Regions from separate parts of the Homo sapiens genome. Here regions 1, 3, 4 and 5 are each linked to region 2. The links are contacts of gene promoters, found by promoter capture Hi-C in human tissues and cell types (Jung and others, 2019). All regions are on one chromosome and are shown on one strand. Each heading gives the region's core, a stretch centred on a gene start or on the middle of the fragment in contact. The rest is flanking DNA. Distances are from core to core; before and after follow the strand shown. Region 1 has its middle 100 kb from the start of PIRT. Region 2 holds the start of ZNF18 (zinc finger protein 18). Region 3 overlaps TMEM220-AS1 (TMEM220 antisense RNA 1). Region 4 has its middle 40 kb from the start of ELAC2. Region 5 has its middle 22 kb from the start of ELAC2.

Region 1 (3,823 bases), core at 373-2,872, 1.1 Mb after region 2:
CCTAGTATGGAATCATAGTCCTTAGAATTCAAAGAAATGTCCAAGGTCATCAGACCCTGTCTTCTGCCAGATGTTGGAAGCCTTTTCCTAAGCCCCCATGATCTTCACCAGGATTTTAATTAGGTTTCAATTCATAAGCCCATCCATAATCAGTGGAGCATCCTATAGTTGAAGTTTGCGAGCCCATATTTGGGTTCATCAAGAATGTCATATGATGTTTGACAAGGGCTCTGGTGGGAACAGCAGCAGCATCAGGGCGAGGAACTTGCTACCTCTGAGCTCAAGCGTCAGCAGTGTTACTGGTAATGAAACCTCTTTCTGCTAAATAGGCCTGGCCCCTGTAGCTTAAGGGGTGACATATGACAGGCAGAAACCAGCCTGAATGGAGAATTGTGATGACTTCGTAGGCACCTTGGCCAGCAACTTATAAGTGGGTAATGAGACACCTCAAATCCAACCACCAGAAGTGTATTGACAAAGGTTTATGTTGGACCTGTGCCCCAAAGTGGGAGATATTTTTCCTTGGCAATCCCATGCAATAATCTCACCTTTTATTGTTTGTTTGTTTGTTTGTTTTTTGAGTTGGAGTCTCGTTCTTTCGCCCAGGCTGGAGTGCAGTGGCATGATCTCGGCTCACTGTAAACTCCACCTCCCGGGTTCAAGTGATTCTCCTGCCTCAGCCTCCCGAGTAGCTGGGATTACAGGCGCACACCACCACACCCAGCTAATTTTTGTATTCTTAGTAGAGACAGGGTTTCACCATGTTGGCCAGGATGGTCTGGATCTCTTGACCTCACGATCCACCCTCCTCGGCCTCCCAAAATGCTGGGATTATAGGTGTAAGCCACCGCACCCGGCCTGTTGGTTTTTTAAAGCACCTTTAGATATATTATAGCATTCAACTCTAAGCACTGGAAATGTCCAGACAGGCCCAGAATCTTAGTACTGAGACTTCTTCCTGCTTTCATGCATAATCCCTAATAACAAGAAACAAAAGCTAACACAAATGCTGAAATGACACAAATCCTACTTAATGGAGAAATGGTGAAAGTCAATATGTGTCATCAAGAGGAACGCAGGCTAGAATCACTAGATAGTCCAACTGTACATAAGGAAATGCAAAATTTTCTTGAGGAGGAACAGGACCAAATCCCCAAACATAAAAGAGAAGCGAATTAATTACTGGCCAGAGGAGACTAGACTTCATGCGCACTCAGGCTGTGTCTCCAGCCCTGTGCCTGGAAAGTGAAGAGCCCATGCAGATTGCTGTTTGAAATTACACCTAAATTTTGTTGATCTGTTCTCTGAATTGAGAATAAAGTTCATGCTTTTGCATTCCCTGCAAGAAAAGGGTTCCTGAAGTCAAATAGATTGCCTAAATCCTATTTAAGGGAATTACAAGAACATACTGATTTTAAGGACTTCAGCGCACTAATTGTCAGAATAAAGATGGATAAAACCAATTACCAAGGGGATTCAGAGAGTTTCCAAAGTGGTCCTCCAGGACCTCCACTCAGAAACACTTTGTCAGCAATCAGTGGTGCTGTGTGTATATGAAATTGGGTCTAAGAAGTTAATGGGTTTTTTGAAATAAACTAACGCCGGCCCCACGCCGGCCAACAGTGGGTTTATTCTGCTTTTAAAAATATCTAATCTATAAAGATAACCTAGATTTATAAAAGAAGTCATATACAACAAAGAAAAAGATTTGCTGTATGCTATTCCTATGAACAGTAAGCTCTCCTACCGAATCTGAAATTTTATCTTTCCTAAAAATAAGCTTAAGAACAACTGCTTAGGAAGATGTCAGTTATATAAAGTGACTCACATCTATGAGGCAGATTTATATCAGCATGTTCAGGACATTTTATATGCCCTCTGGTGAGACCTGCCCTGGTGTGAAGACAGAGATTGTGGCTTTGCGTGGGCTGTGGTTGCTCCTGGTTTGCAAGGGAACAGGAACTGATCTTCCTTGCTGCTAACTGGAGTGTGTTTTCCTCTGTAGGAGTATCCATTCGTTTATATATCCAGCAAGATTGTATTGAGCACCTGCTATGCACATAATATATGCGCAGACATATACCTAGACATGAATAAACACGAGGCATGTGGAGTGTGTAGGAAGTCAGTGCCAGTCTTTAGGGATTGATAGTGGGACTTTGTTAACCTTTTTGATTGGTACCAATGTCTGCTTCCTCACAACACCCCAATTTTTTCCAAGGAGCCCCCTTACTTCTTGGATTCATCATGAGGGGCTGCTGTCAGGTTGCCCACCCCCTCCTGGTCAGGTATTGGGCTGGGCCAGTTGGCTGCTTCCTCCCTGAACTGAACTGAAAGTGTTGGCAATTCCAGGTCGTCTGTGTGCCACTGTTTTGACTGGGGTGTCCCTGACACAAAACGGTAGCTGGGCTTCTTCTCCCTAACCTACAGTGTTGCAAGGGTATCTCTCCAGCTTTTCCTCCTTCTGTGACTCTCTAATAGGCTTTCAACATTCCCTCCCACAAAGTCAGCCAGAACCATTTTCTGTTGGTTATAACCAAACCACCACATGGTACTAGACCTTGAGCCCTGATCCTGTGCATCAGAAACTTTCCCTAGCATAGAAGCTGAGCCTTGCTCCCTCCAGTACCTGTGCATTTTCTAACTGCTTGGAACTCATCTACTTTGGGTCTCCTTTGCTATCGTTTTAGAGGAAATAGCGTCCCTCCTTTTTGAAATTGAGCCTCCACACAGTAAGGTGGCCAACTCATCTGCATCTGCCCGGGACTTACTATCCAGTTTTAGCATTGACAGTCCCATGTCCTGAGAGCTCCCTCAGTCTCAGTAAAACAGGATGTTTGGTCATCCTAACTGAGAGCTTTTATCCCATATCCTTATACATAATAATAGGAGTTTTGCCCTCCCTCAACCAATCATGCAATGTTTTGCTTGGATTACCCAACTTCCCCGCTGTCCCCACTTTCTAAGAGAGTTTACAGAGTCGCCACTATAATCCACATCTCCAGTCTTAAAACTCTAACCTACCTTCTCTCCAACTGGGTCTTCAAGAAGAGGTGCTCTGCTGACAATTCACACCAACATATTCCAAACAACGTTCATTCTCTTCTCACAAACACTAGTTCCCTGTGTGGGTGGCCACTGCCGCTTTGAAGGCAACATATCTAAATGGCAATATAGCCATCAAGTAAATACCAGACAGTAAATACCAAAATGCCCCATTTACCGTAGAGAAACACTTGTACATGTGTAAACAAGCAGACACAAGGACATTCATTAGAGGATTGTTTACAATAGGAGAAAATGAAACTCTCCCCCAGTAGCATATTCATAGAGGGTAATGTATAAATAAACTATGGTAGATCCCTACTGTGGAATCCAAGCAGCAGTGAAAAATAACAATTGCTAATTTGTATACAGCTTACTACACTGGGGGCACTGTTCTAAGTTCTTAAGTGTATAGAGAAAGGTCTATAAAACTACTTCTCAAAACAATGTCTTTACCTCTAAGAAGGGAATTGAGTTTATCGGGAGGTAGCCAATAATGACTAATGTTTTTATATTTTACTCAGGATAATATTTCCACAAATTATTTGATTAATAAAAATTATGTTTTAAAAAAACTACGGCCGGGCATAGTGGCTCACTCCTGTAATCTCAGCACTTTGGGAGGCCAAGACGGGTGAATCACGAGGTCAGGAGTTCAAGACCAGCCTGGCCAAGATGGTGAAACCCTGTCTGTACTAAAAATACAAAAATTAGCTGGGTGTGGTGGTGGGCACCTGTAATCCCACCTACTCGGGAGGCTGAGGCAGAATTGCTTGAA
Region 2 (3,728 bases), core at 426-2,925:
AATCTTCCCCTCTAAACCACCTTATCTCTTGACTTTCTTAGAAGCAGAGCACATTGATGTTGGAAGCAATACCCAATGAAGGTGTCCCTCTAAATGTGCCTGGTAAATTGTTAGCCATGCTGTCCTCAGGAACTCAAAGCAGCGCCATCAATCACATGAATGTTAGAAACGTCCAGCTAGGTGCCATGGCTCATGCCTGTAATCCCAGCACTTTGGGAGGCCAAGGTGGGTGGATCACTTGAGGTCACGAGTTCGAGACCAGCCTGGCCAACATGGTGAAACCCCGTCTCCACCAAAAATACAAAAAAAAAAAAAAAAAAAAAAAAAGACTAGAAACTTCCACCTATGTCAGGCTGAAACAGTAGTTTCACACATAGGATCTTGTTCAGACCCTGGGACTTAAGAGAACATGTCGAATCCCTTTTCCGCTGGTCACTTTTCAGGTACATGAAGATGTAATCCCATCCCCGCATCAAGCTTTATTTCTCCAGAGGAGGATCTTTAATTCTTGTAAACATGGGACAGGTACAGGACATGTTATGATAATGACAGGTACAGGACATGTTATGATAATGACAGGTACAGGACATGTTATGATAATGACAGGTACAGGACATGTTATGATAATGACAGGTACAGGACATGTTATGATAATGACAGGTACAGGACATGTTATGATAATGACAGCTCTTCTTTAAATTTTTATTTTTTATTTATTTTATTTCCATAGGTTATTGGGGAACATGGCAGCTTTTTTTGAATACCCTCCTCTTTGCCAGTTGCCCAAGGTGGAACACCCAAACTTTGACATGATACTTCCATTAATGCAACTTAGTATCACAAGTTGATGTCGTGGCCCAGCACAGGATGGCCTGGAAACCGGCAACACTGGACGCTGGGGAAAGGGTAAGAAGGTCTTGACCATTACAAATGGTGTGGAACTGAGCCGAGGGAGGGATAGTGAGAAGGGAGAGAGGGTGAGGTGTCTGAGAGACAATGAGGTCAAATCAGAGGATTCAGCCATTGTTGGCGTGTGGGAAAGGGAAGGAGAAGGGAAGAGTCAGGGATGACATTTGTTGAGAGAGAGAGAGAGAAGAGAGAGAGACGCAGGTGGAAAGAGGATGGCACCACATTGGACTAGCCCCAACGGAATGGGGAGAAGTGGGAGAGGACCCAGGGGATGCAGAGCTGATGAGAGTGGGAGAACCAAGACAGAGGAAGAAGGTTGGGGCAAATCAAGTGTCTCAGGGAGGCCCAGTGAGGCAAGAACGGAAAGGAGAAAGGCGGCGGTTAAGAATCAGGGATAATGGCAGAGCGTTGCAGCTCTGCGGGTGGGACTGGGCGGAAGGGTTTGGGAGAGACAAAGAAATGATCTTTGAAGGCCTCGCAGTGCTTGGCCGAGTGCCTGGCACAGAATAGGTGCGCAATAAATGACGGGTGAGAAGTGAAGGAACTCAGGAACAGTGATTAGTGAGTGAGTGACGGAAGGAACGGAGGATGGCGTTGGCTCGGGAACCTCGCTGCCATGTCGGTGGAGGCTCCTGGGCTGCAACGCCAGAGAGAGGCGGGGCGTCCCCGACGGCCAATAGGAGCTTCGGTATCAGCTCCGCCCCCGCCCCCTAGCTCCGCCCGGTGCCGCACGTCGTTCGCCTGCCGCCTGAGGCGCGCGCAGCCACCCAGCTCCCGGAAGTGCGCCCGGAGCCGGCGCCGCGGGCCGAGGTGAGCGCGCTTGCGGGGCGGTCCCGGCCTCCGGCCGCTCGGGGTCAGGCCTTGCGCTATCTGCGTCCGCACCTGACTCAGCTGGGCACCCCGGAGCTACGGAGGGGCCAGCGGGCTCCCTTGCCCATGCGTCTGGGAGCGCGCGGGGGACGTGGCGAGTGCGGGGCCGGGGCAGCCATGGCTGGGAGTGGACCGTGGGTGCGGGGGGATGTGTGAACCCCGTCCCGGCTCTGCATTCCTGCGCCTCTGCGCCCCGCGGGACCGGCCGGGTCTCTGCACTGGGACCGAAAACGGGCTCCTCCCCGCTGTCTTCCCCTAAGGGCTGAAAATGAGTCTCTGGAAGAGGAAACCCGATGGGATGATGCCTGGAGTCTCTCCCTCTCTCATCAGAGTGCAGTCGGCATTTGGGGGGCGCATGGTGGAGAATACATATCCAATGAGCAGCGCTGCCCTGGCCTCGAGCACTAAATGCCAGTTCCCCTAGCTGCTTGTGACAACCAGAAAACGCCCCAACAAATCACCAGACGTTGGCAGTTCTCCCCAAAGCAAAGGCTTTAGAGCTTCCTGGGTTAATCTGGCTGCCACTTGTGAGCCTCGGAGGTTCCTGATCTGTACACCAGGGTAATTGTGGGAATTGGAAATACATGAACCGAGCTTAATAATGAGCCGATACGTAGTAGGTGCTTAACAAATGGTTACTTATATATGTAACCATGTATGTAACCACTTGTGTATATTACACCTAGAATGCACTTTTAAAAATTCATTCTATTTGTTAAAGGTTTAATAACAGGTATAACAGACAACCTTATTTTTTTTTCATAACTAATGGGGGCAGTTCCTCATGAGGTTATCGGAATATAAACTCTATTAAATTTTTAATACTATATAAAGTAATTTAATTTTGAATAATCGAGACATTTTTCTTACACACTACCTGGGAGTATAATATTACTAACAAAAGATTTAAGTATTTTATAAAATCTGTAGTTTTTCCAAAATGTCATTTCTCTTAAATATTATCTAAACTGCTATCTTAATTTAGGAAACAGATAAATTGCAGTAAGTTTACAGGTCGGTATCTTGCTATCTAAAATCTTGCCGCTTGTTATTTGAAACTCTTGAGCCAAATAGGTTGGATTTACAAAGCAAGGTATTTTTAAAAATATATTTATTCGTTTTTTAAGATGTTATTTGAAACTGTAGGTTTACCTCTGAGCTAAAGCTGCTTTTCAGGTGGTTTGATAATGCTGTCATTGTCACTCAGTATGAAAACATATTTTAATTTCCTTTGTGATTTTTTTCTTTGACTATGGGTTAAGAGCATTATTTAGTAATTTCCATAAATTGGGATTTTCTAGTTATTGTTATTGATTTCTACTTTAATTGCACTATGATCAGAGAATATATTTGAACCCAGGAAGCTCTAAAGTTTTCCATTTGACCTTTCTGGTTTTGTTTCTCTTGTGTTCCTTTTCTATCAGATATTGGGTTTTTGAGTGTTTTTTGGTATTGCTTTAATGGCTTTTTAGCAATACCACTTTGCGTAATATTTTTAGAGCTAATTTTAAGATATCAGTCATTTGAAAATTATGCATATGGTCTGTTTTGATGAATACTCTTTGCACTTGTAATGAATGTATACTCTGCAGTTCTTGGGTCTAGTGTTCTGAAAATGTCAATTAGAGCAAGTCGGTTGATAGTGTTCAGATTTTTTGACTTCACTGACTCTTTTTTTTTTTTTTTTTGAGATGGAGTCTCCCTCTGTCGCCCAGGCTGGAGTGCAGTGGTACGATCTTGACTCACTGCAACTTCCGCCTCCCAGGTTCAGGCTGTTCTCCTACCTCAGCCTCCTGAGTTGCTGGGATTACAGGTGCGCACCACCATGCCCAGCTAATTTTTGTATTTTTAGTAGAGATGGGGTTTTACTGCGTTGGCCAGGCTGGTCTCAAACTCTTGACCACAGGTGGTCCTCCCGCCTAGGGCTTCCAAAGTGCTGGGATTGCAGG
Region 3 (4,022 bases), core at 1,127-3,626, 1.2 Mb after region 2:
ATTTCAGGGATGGGGAAACTGAAACCGCAGGTAAAGCGGCTTCACCAAGTTCAAGCAACTGAAAAGTGACAGATCCAGGTCTGGAGCCCAGGTCTCCAGGCTGCCAGTAAAGGCCTCTTTCCTCTCCATAAATGGCTGACTGGCTTCTCCCAAGCCCTGCTGAGCCTCAGGCAGAACAAGCAAGCGAGCAGGTCAGCAGCTGTGGAAGTGAGGCACGCTCATACTGCAGAGTCATGCACCTTTCCCCCTCGGGCCTCACCCTGGCTGTGCCGCGTGCCCAGGAAGGAACAGGCCTCCACGCTGCTCTGCGTCACTTCAGATACCACAGCACTGAGCCCATGGGTGCCCCTCACACAGGGCAGGGAGGGAGGAGGAAATAGGAGGGGCCACAATGCCACCAGGCAGCTCCACATTGAGCCGGACTACATCTGATCTGGACTTGTCCTCCCAGAAAGCTCTCCACCAAAGGGCTGGGCATGGTGAGCCTCCTACTGTTCCCCAGGCCCACCTCATGGCCCCTCCTCCTGTTCATTCCCTCTAGAGGCAATTGGGCCTTTTCAGTGACCTGAACTCTGTCCACCCTGCCACTTACAGGCTGAGTGACTATAGGTAGCCCCCTCCTATTAGGAGGTAATAATAATGACATCACAATCACAAGTGATCCAGCACCAGTCTTCAGGACTTCTGCAGCCTCCTGAATTGGCAAATACCTTAGAAGGTATCATGCCTCATGTCTGTAATCCCAGCACTTTGGGAGGCTGAGGCAGGTGGATCACCTGAGGTCGGGAGTTCGAGACCAGCCTGACCAACGTGGAGAAGCCCCTTCTCTACTAAAAATACAAAATTAGCCCGGTATAGTGGTGCATTCCTGTAATCCCAGCTACTCCGGAGGTTGAGGCAGGAGAATCGCTTGAACCCGGGAGGCAGAGGTTGTGGTGAGCCAAGATCGCATCATTGCACTCCTACAGCAAAACTCCGTCTCAAAAAAAAAAAAAAATCAAAATGTAGAGCTGTAAATCTTAGGCCATCACCTCCTGATTCTAGGGCTATAAACCTGTTGTTTTCAAAGCTATTTAAGGTAAGGTTTGCCATAATGATCAAGTCCACATTTCTCACAACCTCATCCCCATGGCTTATTGCAGAGATGACCAACAGGACCCACAAAACCAGGGGAAGGCGGTCATACTAGGTGGAAGGTCAGCCCACCCCCCAATCAGTAGCCTCGAAGCCCCTCAGATTGAACTCATCTCTCAGTGAAATTACAGTACAATTGAGGAAGGGGAGCTTATCCTGGCTGGATCACAAGCTGACCGCCACCGTTGAGGCAGGCTCAGAAATGTATTTGCATAAAGGATCGGAGAGCCTCCTGGGTAAAAACAAACCCTAAGGGTACAGGGAGTCAGGCAAACAGGCTTGGCCTAGTAGCAGAAACTTCACACGGATATGTTCAGCTTCCTTTACCTTCCATCTGTGTTTGTTCTCAGAGAAAAAGGGTTGCAAAAAGGAATAGAATTGCGGGGGAAACATACTCTCTATGATACTGGGATATACATCTCAGCACTTGAAGGCATCCAGCATACACTTGTGTTTGTTCCTGGTAGACAGAGTAATAATCTGGCAGAAAAATAAAACAATAGATGCCAACTAATAGCTGACTGAACTTGTTTAAGAGCTGAATCAGTTCTTCCAAGACTCCCAGAAGTTTCTTGGCAGGGCAGGCACACAAGGGGAATAGGCGCTAGCCAGGAAAACAAGGATAACAAAAAAGCCATTTCTTGTCAGGGGTATTGGGAAGAAAGGCTCAGAATACCAGAAGCTGAATATGAATCTGGGAATACCACAGCTTTGCTGTGTGAGCCAGTGCTATGCACAGATCCAAGGACTAAACAAAGGGAATGGCCAGAAGCAAGTGCCTGTGACTTTACAGTAGCCACATGGTTGCAGGCTTACGTGTGTTCCTTTATTCAACAGATGGTCACCTTGGGCCTCATTCCAGCCTGGGTCCCAAAGACTGCCTCAACCGGAACTTGGAAGGTTCCTTAGCATTTGACACTGGTAACTTTTAGAAAAGGAAGGGAGAAGTAAGGTACAGATTCCCACTGGAGCCACCCTGCCATCAGACATCTCTGCCATACCCCATACTGCACTGGTCTGTGTGTACCCAAACCCCCCCAAGTCAGCATGCAAATAATTTGCATGCCATTTCTACACACTATTTTATAAGTTAACACCTTAAATGCCGAATTTGGCCTGCCTCTGCTTTCCAAGTTTCGGCACCCAGTTTACTATTATCTATTTCTTTTCTTTCCTTTCTTGTTTTTCTTTCTTCAAACTAGCTGTGCCTGCACCAGCCCCAGCCCTCGAGAACAGCTCTTACCTATTTCACCCAGTTCACTTCCAGCCAAAGCCACAGGCTTATCCCACAGTGAAAAGGACAGAGGCCCTCCATCAAAGCTTTTTTCTGTGTTGGGCATATACCCAACACACACAGACTCAGCTTGGATGTCCTCTCACCCCTTGACCCCATCTTTCTGACTAATCCCTTCCACTCCGCATCAATCTGGGGCTCTGTGACCCTCCCTTCCCAAGTTCACATCTACCTCCCTGGCTGCAGCTATTCAGAATCTGAACTCTGACCCCTGCCCAGGACCTCTCACTCTGAAGAAGAGTCCAGGGCTACAACACCCAACACCAGACCTCTGTAGCTCCCTGGGAACAATAGAGCAGTGATTCTCAAAGTGCAGTCCCTGGACCAGCAGCCTCAGCCTCCCCTAGGAGCTTGTTAGAAATGCAAAGACTTCAGCACTCCGTCGAGTAACAAACTCATCCCAGTTTCCCCAGGACTTTCTTGGTTTCAGTATTGAAAATTCCACATCTTGAGAACCCTGATCAGTCCTGGGCAAACCAGGCTGGCTGGTCATACTAACTGTATCCTAGACCTGCTAACGGAGCAGCAACGGGGGTAGGGGTCAGCAATGGGTATTCAACAAGCCCTCCAGGGGATTCTGATGCCCGCTCAAGTCTTATAACTTCACCTTAAAGGGTTTTTGATGCTGAACTTGTGCCTGCCTGAGGGCTGCCCTCTGGGTGAACCCCTCTTGTCCATCTTCTCTCTGGGCACAGGAAAACAAACCATGTCATTTGGAGTCCTCCCAGACTGCACCAGCCCCAAGCAGCTCTGTCAGCTGTGAAGAACCTCAAGTCCTGTCCAGCTGATACCGTCTTAAGTCACCTGCAACAGGTGTCCTCACCAACTAGGGGGGTGCACTCATTTTTCCTCCCATCTCTTTCACATTTCAATTTTCAAGGAAATCGAGTTTCCCTTTGTTTGGGGAAAAAGTCATGTGGGATGGGGGAGCTTGCTGGGCCTGGTGTACAAAAAAGGAGGGAAAAGGAAGGAGAGGGGTCTCGGTGGGGTGGGGGAAGGGTGAAAGGTATTGAGGGAATGACGTTGATGGAAGGAGGATTAAAAGAAGGCTGGGATGGAGAACAGCAGTGGCAAAGCCATGGAAGAGAGAAAGTGAGAAATGGGAAAAGGTTTCTCAAAGTGTGGTTCCAGTGGACCAGCCGCGGCAGCAGCCCCTGGAACCTTGTAAGACATACAGATTGTCAGTCTCACCGCAGACCTACTTAATCAGAAACTCTGGGATTGGGTCCCTCTGTGTCTGCAGTTTAAAAAGTCTCCCCGGCCAGGCACAGTGGCTCACGCCTGTAATCCCAGCACTTTGGGAGGCCGAGGCGGGCAGATCACGAAGTCAGGAGATGGAGACCATCCTGGCTAACACGATGAAACCCTATCTCTACTAAAAATACAAAACATTAGCCGGGCGTGGTGGCGCACGCCTGTAATCCCAGCTACTCAGGAGGCTGAGGCAGGAGAATCGCTTGAACCTGGGAGACAGAGGTTGCAGTGAGCCGAAATCACACCACTGCACTATAGCCTGGTGACGGAGCGAGACTCCGCCTCACAAAAAAAAAAAAAAAAAAGGCTTCCCAGTGATTCTGATGACAGCTATGGTCTG
Region 4 (4,168 bases), core at 438-2,937, 1.1 Mb before region 2:
AGAGCTATATGTGGCTAGTGGCTACCATATTGAACTGTGCAGACTGATGGTATGAGACTATTTTACCTCCAAATATATGTACAATAATAATATTGGAAAGACATACAGCAGAATGTAAACAATGGTCATCCCTCGGGAGTGGGGCTATGGTTGTTTCAGTTTTAAATGTGTTTAAATATGGAAGGGTTTTTTTTTTATTAATTAATTAATTTATTTATTTTGAGACAGAGTCTCACTCTGTCACCCAGGCTGGAGTGCAGTGGCGTGATCTTGGCTCACTGCAACCTCCACCTCCCGGGTTGAAGGGATTCTCCTGCCTCAGCCTCCCGAGTAGCTGGGATTACAGGTGCCTGACATCGCACCTGGCTATTTTTTGTAGTTTTAGTGAAGATGGGTTTCACCATCTTGGCCAGGCTGGTCTTAAACTCCTGACCTCATGATCCACCCGCCTTGGCCTCCCAAAGTGCTGGGATTACAGGCATGAGCCACCGCGCCCGGCTGCAAGGGGTTATTTTTTAAATGGGAGTACAATGTGCTTCAAACTGCTTTGAAAACACTGTTCTGTGTGGAGAGTGGTGAAAACTTCGGGCCGGTCACATGGGTCCCTGAGGGTTTGCCTGACCACCCAGGCTGAATCATATTTAATTGGAGCCCCAAATGTCCCCAAAGGATCATTCCAGATGTCACGGACTCATGTCTCGGCACACCAAGGATCACTTCCCCAGTCGCAGCCCTGGGCTTTGGTCAATGTTATTTTCCTAAAAGTTTTCATACCTGATGGGCAGAGTTAAGAGAAACTTGTGTGTCTGATGGGGCAGGAGGCCTGGTTTTAATAGAGGCCATGCCGCCGGTTGTGGGATCAGCACTCCTTCTCACCCACCGTCAAAGCTTTTCATCACTTCATGTGCCCCAATCCGGAGAGATTTGCTTCCCATTATGGCTCCAAGCCTAGTTCTCTATCCCAGGAGCCAGGCATCGGCACACCTTGTGGATGAAAAATTATCCAAGCTGCTAGTGCAGTGGGAGAACTAATCCTTCCACCATGGGTAGCTCAAGGTACTTAAGAAATCCTCTGGTACTGCAGGAATCGCCATGAGAGAAGTTGTCCCAGATGCCCACATCTAGGGGCACCTAAGGCCCATCGCATCATACTGCTTATGTCCTCATTTGTCTGTGCTCCACCCCAAGACCAGCAAGAAATAAATGAGGCAGACTTTTCACAATCTTTGACTCTTACTGTTTTTTTTTTTTGTTTTTTTTAGACAGAGTTTTGCTCTTGTCGCCCAGGCTGGAGTACAGTGGGGCCATCTCGGCTCACTGCAACCTCTGCCTCCCAGGTTCAAGCAATTCTCCTGCCTCAGCCTCCTGAGTAGCTGGGATTACAGGCGCCCGCCAACACGCCCAGCTAAGTTTTGTATTTTCAGTAGAGACTGGGTTTCACCATGCTGGCCAGGCTGGTCTGGAACTTCTGACCTCAGGTGATCCACCCGCCTCAGCTCCCAAAGTGTTGGGATTACAGGCTTGAGCCACCGCACCCGGCCTGACTCTTACTGTTTCTTAAACAAAACGTGCCATTTTGTTATGTCCTATTTTATATGGTTTGCTAATTGTGGAATATTATCCTCCACGGGGTTACCATGGTGCCTCCAAGCCCACAGCCTCTTCCAGATAAGACTGTCCCATGAAGATGCAGCCCGAAAAGCCAGGTGGCTTTTCCCACACCTAGTAATAGGACCCCATTTGTAAGCTGGCCAGCAACCTGAGATGTGGACTGGCACAAAACCATAAATGGACCAGTTCCTATGCAGCAAGAAACACACAGTTAGCAGTGAGAGCTGAACTGAGGTACAGCTGTAGCCATTAGCTGAATTTAGTGAAGAAAAGCTATGAGATAGAGAAAGGATATGAAGAATTAAGGTAAAGAATAAACCATTTAGTAGTGAGACAGGAAGAAGCAGACAGGAGAAGATCAGCTTAATCATGATGAATGGTGGAACCCAGAGCAAAGATTCACCAGCTCCAGCTGTGGAAGTCCACTGAGCCATCTTGGATTCATCCCACTGACATGGTTTGGATCTCCGTCCCCGCCCAACCAAATCTCATGTGGAATTGTAATCCCCAATGTTGGAGGTGGGGCCTGGTGGGAGGTGATTGGATCGTGGAGGTGGCTTCTCATCAATGGTTTAGTACCATCCCCCTTGACGCCATTCTCATGATTAGTGAGTGAGTTCTCATGAGATTTGTAATCCCAGTATTTTGGGAGGCCAAGGCGGGCAGATCACCTGAGGTCAGGAGTTTGAGACCAGCCTGGCTAACGTGGTGAAACGCCGTTTCTACTACAAATACAAAAAATTAGCTGGGCGTGGTGGCAGGTGCCTGTAATCCCAGCTACTCAGGAGGCTGAGGCAGGAGAATCACTTTAATACAGAAGGCGGAGATTGCAGTGAGCCGAGATCGTGCCATTGCACTCCAGCTTGGGCAACAAGAGCAAAACTCTGTCTGAAAAACAAACAAACAAACAAAATTTGTGTGGCACCTCCCCCGAGTCTTCCTCCTGCTCCTACCTATGTGAGATGCCTGGCTTCCCCTTTGATTGGAAGCTTCCTGAGGCCTCCCCAGAAGCAGAAGCTGCTATGCTTTCTGTACAGCCTGCAGAACTGTGAGCCAATTAAGCTTGTTTCCTTTATAAATTACCCAGTGTCAGTTATTTCTTAATAGCAGTGCAAGAACGGATGAAGACACCCATCTGCAGCTTCCTACTCTTCTTGAGGCCTCCGTGTCTGGCTTTTCCTGGGTTCTATGCTAGTGTACATTTTCAATAAGCCCCCATTACTTGAGGTAACTGAAGTTCTCATAAAACAAACACATGCCCAACCATTCCTTTGCATGGTTCTTGTTCCTAGAATGGAAGCATGGTTGAAAAGGGCTGGCTTTAGGCCAGGCATGGTAGCTTACGCCTGTAATCTCAGCACTTTGGGAGGCTGAGGTGGGCAGATCACCTGAAGTCAGGAGTTCAAGACCAGCCTGGCCAACATGGTGAAACCCCATCTCTACTAAAAATACAAAAATTAGTCAGGCATGGCGGTATGCACCTGTAATCACAGCTACCTGGGAGGCTGAAGCAGGAGAATCACTTGAACCTGGGAGGCAGAGGCTGCAGTGAGCCAAGATCGCCCCACTGCACTCCAGTCTGGGCAACAGAACAAGACTCTATCAAAACAAAACAAAACAAAAAAAGCTGATTTGGATAAGAAAGCATCTCGACACCTGTCCTTGCGCCTCTCCTAGGCTCCATTGGTAGAGGTCCCCCAAAGGATCAACCAACCCACTAACACTTCCAAACTCCTTGATTCTTCATGGAAAACCCCGACAATTCTCAGATACGAGAAAACAGGGCGGCAATTTAACATGACAGAAACGTGGTAGATCTTTGGGACATGGTTTTAAGCCAATGTTAGAATAAAATATGGAAGTGATTTAATTAAAATAACAACAAAACATCTCAATACTTATTTTTCAAATGACCAGGCAGTAATTGTAACTTTCTTGGTATATGTACACTTCTATGAGTTTCAGCATGTGTAAAGATTTGTGTGAATAATGCTATAATAGGAATAAAGAATAATTAAATCACCTTAAAAACTGCCTCCTGCCATCCATCTATAGTCAGGTATCCCGTCACGTCACGTTGGCCACCACTGATCCATTTATTGTCCCAAAAGTTGTGTCTTTTTTTTAATGTCATATAAATGCAATTCTGTAATATGTTACTTTTGAGTCTGGCTTCTTGTACTCGGTGTAAGGCCTTTTAAACCTATCCATGTTGTTTTGTGTGTCAACAATTTGTTCCTTTTTTTTTTTTTTTTTTTTTTTTGAGATGGAGTCTCGTTCTGTCACCCAGGCTGGAGTGTAGTGGCGTGATCTCGGCTCACTGAGACCTCCGCCTCCTGGGTTCAAGCAATTCTCTTGCCTCAGCCTCCCAACTAGCTGAGACTACAGGTTCCCGCCACCACGCCCGGCTAATTTTTGTATTTTTAGTACAGATGCGGTTTCACCATGTTGGCCAGGCTGGTCTTGAACTCCTGACCTCAGGTGATCTGCCCTCCTCAGCCTCCCAAAGTGCTGGGATTACAAGCGTGAGCCACCATTCCTGGCCAATTTATTCCTT
Region 5 (4,101 bases), core at 593-3,092, 1.0 Mb before region 2:
TAGTGATTGATCTCAATCTCTAGCCCTTCTCTGCTCTCTTGGAGGTTGGGGATTGCAGCTGAAAAGTCCAACTCTTTAATTGTACAACTAGCCCCTATTCTAAAGCTATCTTATACTTCACCCTACGAGTCATCTTGTTAGCATACAAAAGACACTCCTATAGCTCAGGAAATTCCAAGGGTTTTAGGAGTTCTGTGTCAAGAATCAGTAACAAAGAGAAAACATATTTTATGATAATACCTCAGTTGGACAAGGTAGGAATTAGTGTTATTTTGTGGAAGTTTTGTTCTCAACTGTTCATATATGTGTTTGTGTGTCTTCCTTCCGGATCTTGATATAAAAGATGTTTCTTACTGTGGACTGTGGTAAAAACATTTAAAAATCTGGCAGCTAGACATGCCTGCCTCCAAGACTGCCCTGTAAAGTCTGACATGTTCACTGTTTAAAATTTAAAAAAAAAAAAACTTTAGACAAATTAAATTGACAGAGTTTAATTGAGCAAAGCATGATTCGCAAATTGGGCAGCCCTTTCCTCCCCCAACCAGAATAGGTTCACAGAGACTCAGCGCTGCTGTGTGATCGGAGAGGATTTATGGACAGAAAAAGGAAAGCGATGTACAGAAAATGGAAATGAGGTACAGAAGCAGCTAAATTAGTTACAGCTTAGCCTCTGCCTTGTTTGAACAGGGTTTGAACAGTTGGCTGCCTGTGATTGGCCAAAATTCGGTGATTGGTACAAGAATAGGAGACAACCTGTTTACACATCTGCTTAGGTTCCAGTTCACTATGTAGGGAGCAACTTGGAGACTGAATGTAAAATATATGCAAGGAGACAGCTTTAGGGTAAGCTTAATTTAACGTCACTATGCTGGTGCTTCAGGAGGGCTGGTGGATGACATTTCTCCGATCCTTCAACTCCTCTTTCTGGATCTTCATTCCCCAACTCCTCCTACGATGTATAGGATCTAATTCCTATAATAAATCTTATGTTCCATGTGTTTTCTTAAAAGAAGTTTGTAAAACACCTTTCTGGAGGAGACATTATACAGTATTTGTAATGATTTGTGTCTGTGTGCAAAGACTTGACAAAAACATGTAAAACATAAAAAGAAAGGCCAGACAACAAGTGCCTTTAACGAGCAGGAAAAGCTTCTTATAAGAGGTAACATTGAACTGAGCCTTGAGTGATGAGCAGAGACACCCATGAGACAACAGCTCTCAGAACAACAAATCTGCTTTTCTCTCTCCCACTAAGCGTGATCACTTCACTTCCATCCAAGTCTATTCTGCATTTATCACTTGAAAATTCAGCAAAATATTCATCCAACTAATAAGAAATCAGCCAATTCAGTTGCATGCTTGCATCTGTGTGTTGTTTCCGGTGAAATTGTCCCAAGAAGATGCCCCAAACCCCAGGCACCCAGAGCCTACCTAAGACAGAGGTTAGACCAGGACAACAGAAAACCTATTCCCCAAATTAGAGACTTTAAAAGGTGAAGTTTACTTATTTCTTGTAGGGCAATAAGTGGACTGACCATAAAGAGAGGAGTCCAGATGTCTTATTGGGTTCCCTGGAAACAGATTCTGGAATGAGTTGCATATAGAAAGTTCACTGTGGAAAAGACAGCAGTAAGGAAAGAGGAAAGGCAAGAATAGGCAGAGGGGAAAATTGACCCACAATGTAGCTGCAGCTGACGCCTCAGCCAGTACAACAGGGAGCTCTGCAGTTGGAGTAACTCTTCAGAGATGCCCGCAGTTGAGGTAAGAGGGCTGAGCTTTTGTAATCTCAGGGTAAAGCAGTTCCCTGTAGCCATGGACAATTCTCAACGATGACCATGACTGTGAGCCCTCACAGCTATGAACGATATTCCTAGGAGCTAGGAAACGGGTGTGTGGGCCTTGAAAAGGGCATCTGGTACAGCCCACCATGATCTAACACAATCCTATATTCTGGTTAACTGGCTTTCCAGTTACTGGCCTGGAATGAGTATGAGCTATAAAGACAAATTTTGTCAAGGTTTGATTAAGCCTGTGTGACTGCGTGACTCCTTTGTTGTAAGTACAGAATTTAAAACAGCATTAAGAGGAGAAACAGTCTGATAGGCAGGGGTAGACCCAGTCCTTTGACAAGAGATATTTCCAAGGCCAATACAGAAAGAGGACAGCAGACTTCTAAAATTATCAGATTCAAAAGAGTGTATGAAGAACCATCTGTCATTTTTGGATGGCCAGAGATGATTTTTTCTGGTGATAATATCATCCCTATTTTGCTTTAGGAGGCCATTTCTTTCTCGCCATCAGTCTATAAGGTTAGGATGGGCTGGCCCTTTCCCTTCATTCTATAGGTGGGCAAGGAAACCATCTTGGCAAATAAGAAGTCCCCCTACTTCTGGGATTGTTCAGAGTTGGGCATACAATCCAAACTAGCCAATGAAAGTTAATGAACCTCATCCCCAAGACTTTCATTGGAACATTTGTGAACAAGACCTTCCCTTTCTGCCAGGGATACTAAGATAATGGACCATCTGCCTGGAGCTTCCAATATCCATCTGCTTCCTCCTGGGTAGAGCCCATCTGAGAATTAGACCGACAAAGAGGAGCGTGGGACTCAGAGGTAGAGTGGGACAAATTCCTGGTGATATCTTTTGAACATTGGTGTTGCTATAAAGGAATATCTGAGGCTGAGTAATTTTAAAATAAAGAGGTTTATTTGGCTCATGGTTCTGCAGACTGTATAAGAAGAATGTTTCCAGTATCTGCTTCTGGTGAGGGCCTCAGACTGCTTCCATTTATGCTGAAAGGTGAAAGGGATCCAGTGTGTGCAGAAATCACATGGTGAGAGAGGAACCAAGAGAAGGGTGAGGTGCCAGTCTCTTGTTATCAACCAGCTCTTGAAAGAACCAGTTGAGCAAGAACTCACTCACTACCACCAGGATGGCACCAAGCCATTCATGAGGGACATGCCCCCATGACCCAAACACCTCTTACCAGGCCCCATCTCCAACACTGGAGATCAAATTTCAATATGAGGTTAGGAGGGTCAACTTCCAAACTATAGCAAGTGCCTAGATATAGTCATCACTGAAGATTCCCTACCATGTCTGCCTCTGGCCTTTACACTTCATTGAGCTAGTAACTGTTCTTTTTTGCTGAAGCCCGTAAGTTGTTCTTTTCATTCTGAAAAGAGTTCAAACCAATGCCACATGACACCTGAAAGGGAGCAGATGGTCTTACGAGCTCCTCTCCCAACCTCTCCAGTCTAATCCATCCAAGCTTTTCACCCTTCATATGCACAATCGTCCTACTCCTCAGGGTGAACTGGGGGTGAGGGAAGAGTCTGCAGTTTCATCAACAAGCCAATAGTGACCTGGGAAGCATTTATGGAAAAGTGAAGATTTGAATGTGGATTTTAAAAACAGTCAGAGTAGGCTAGGCACAGTGGCTCACGCTTATAATCCTAGTACTTTGGGAGGCCAAGGCGGGTGGATCACCTGAGGTCAGGAGTTCGAGATCAGCCTGACCAACATGGTGAAACCCTGTTTCTACTAAAAATACAAAAATTAGTTTGGTGTGGTGGCACACGCCTGTAATCCCAGCTACTCGGGAGGCTGAAGCAGGAGTATCGCTTGAACTTGGGAGGCAGAGGTCGCAGTGAGCCGAGATCATGCCACTGCACTCCAGCCTGGGCAACAGAGCAAAACTCCATCTCAAACCAAACCAAACGAAACAAAAATAATAAAAATAGTCAAGGTAGAGACAAAGAGGAAATTGAGGGGAAATACAATGCGTGAGAACTCTAGGGAAGGAAAAACTTTTCTTCTACCCTCTTAGGTTCTGTGGTTGGGCCTGAGAATTCAGTTGATAAAACACAGACTATCAGGAGGAAAGCATACACATTTTATTTGATATTAATATTTTGTGTTGTTTGTTTGTTGTTTTCTGAGACAGACTCTTGCCCTGTTGCTCAGGCTGGAGTGCAGTGGAGTGATCTTGGCTCACTGCAACTTCCACCTCCTGGGTTCAAGCGATTCTTCTCCCTCAACCTCTCAAGTAGCTGGAACTACAGATATGCACCACCACGCCTGGCTAATTTTTTTTTTT

The links. Contacts are between HindIII fragments. The study calls those that stand out against the background at their distance.
Region 1: a contact is called between a fragment that was not itself captured here and the fragment with the promoter of ZNF18 in region 2, in 1 of the 25 tissues and cell types used here (aorta).
Region 3: a fragment that was not itself captured here is called in contact with the fragment with the promoter of ZNF18 in region 2 in 1 of the 25 tissues and cell types used here (dorsolateral prefrontal cortex).
Region 4: a contact is called between a fragment that was not itself captured here and the fragment with the promoter of ZNF18 in region 2, in 1 of the 25 tissues and cell types used here (pancreas).
Region 5: a fragment that was not itself captured here is called in contact with the fragment with the promoter of ZNF18 in region 2 in 1 of the 25 tissues and cell types used here (heart right ventricle).

Annotation. Positions count from the first base shown.
Region 1 is chr17:10,937,646-10,941,468 of GRCh38, reverse strand. No RefSeq gene overlaps it. Among named protein-coding and RNA genes, the nearest start is that of PIRT, 100 kb to the right of the region's middle. The HindIII fragment of the contact is 8,978 bases long and covers 1-3,823 here.
Region 2 is chr17:11,995,422-11,999,149 of GRCh38, reverse strand. ZNF18 (zinc finger protein 18) reads left to right here and starts at 1,675. Exons shown (of 7, transcript NM_001303281.2): 1 at 1,675-1,719. RefSeq lists enhancers at 1,107-1,186, 1,257-1,496, 611-1,594 and a silencer at 1,527-1,976. The HindIII fragment of the contact is 7,782 bases long and covers 1-3,728 here.
Region 3 is chr17:10,788,584-10,792,605 of GRCh38, reverse strand. The region is part of intron 1 of TMEM220-AS1 (TMEM220 antisense RNA 1); the gene reads right to left. Among named protein-coding and RNA genes, the nearest start is that of TMEM238L, 14 kb to the left of the region's middle. The HindIII fragment of the contact is 7,595 bases long and covers 1-4,022 here.
Region 4 is chr17:13,055,958-13,060,125 of GRCh38, reverse strand. No RefSeq gene overlaps it. Among named protein-coding and RNA genes, the nearest start is that of ELAC2, 40 kb to the right of the region's middle. The HindIII fragment of the contact is 3,964 bases long and covers 1-3,669 here.
Region 5 is chr17:13,037,556-13,041,656 of GRCh38, reverse strand. No RefSeq gene overlaps it. Among named protein-coding and RNA genes, the nearest start is that of ELAC2, 22 kb to the right of the region's middle. The HindIII fragment of the contact is 3,904 bases long and covers 1-3,794 here.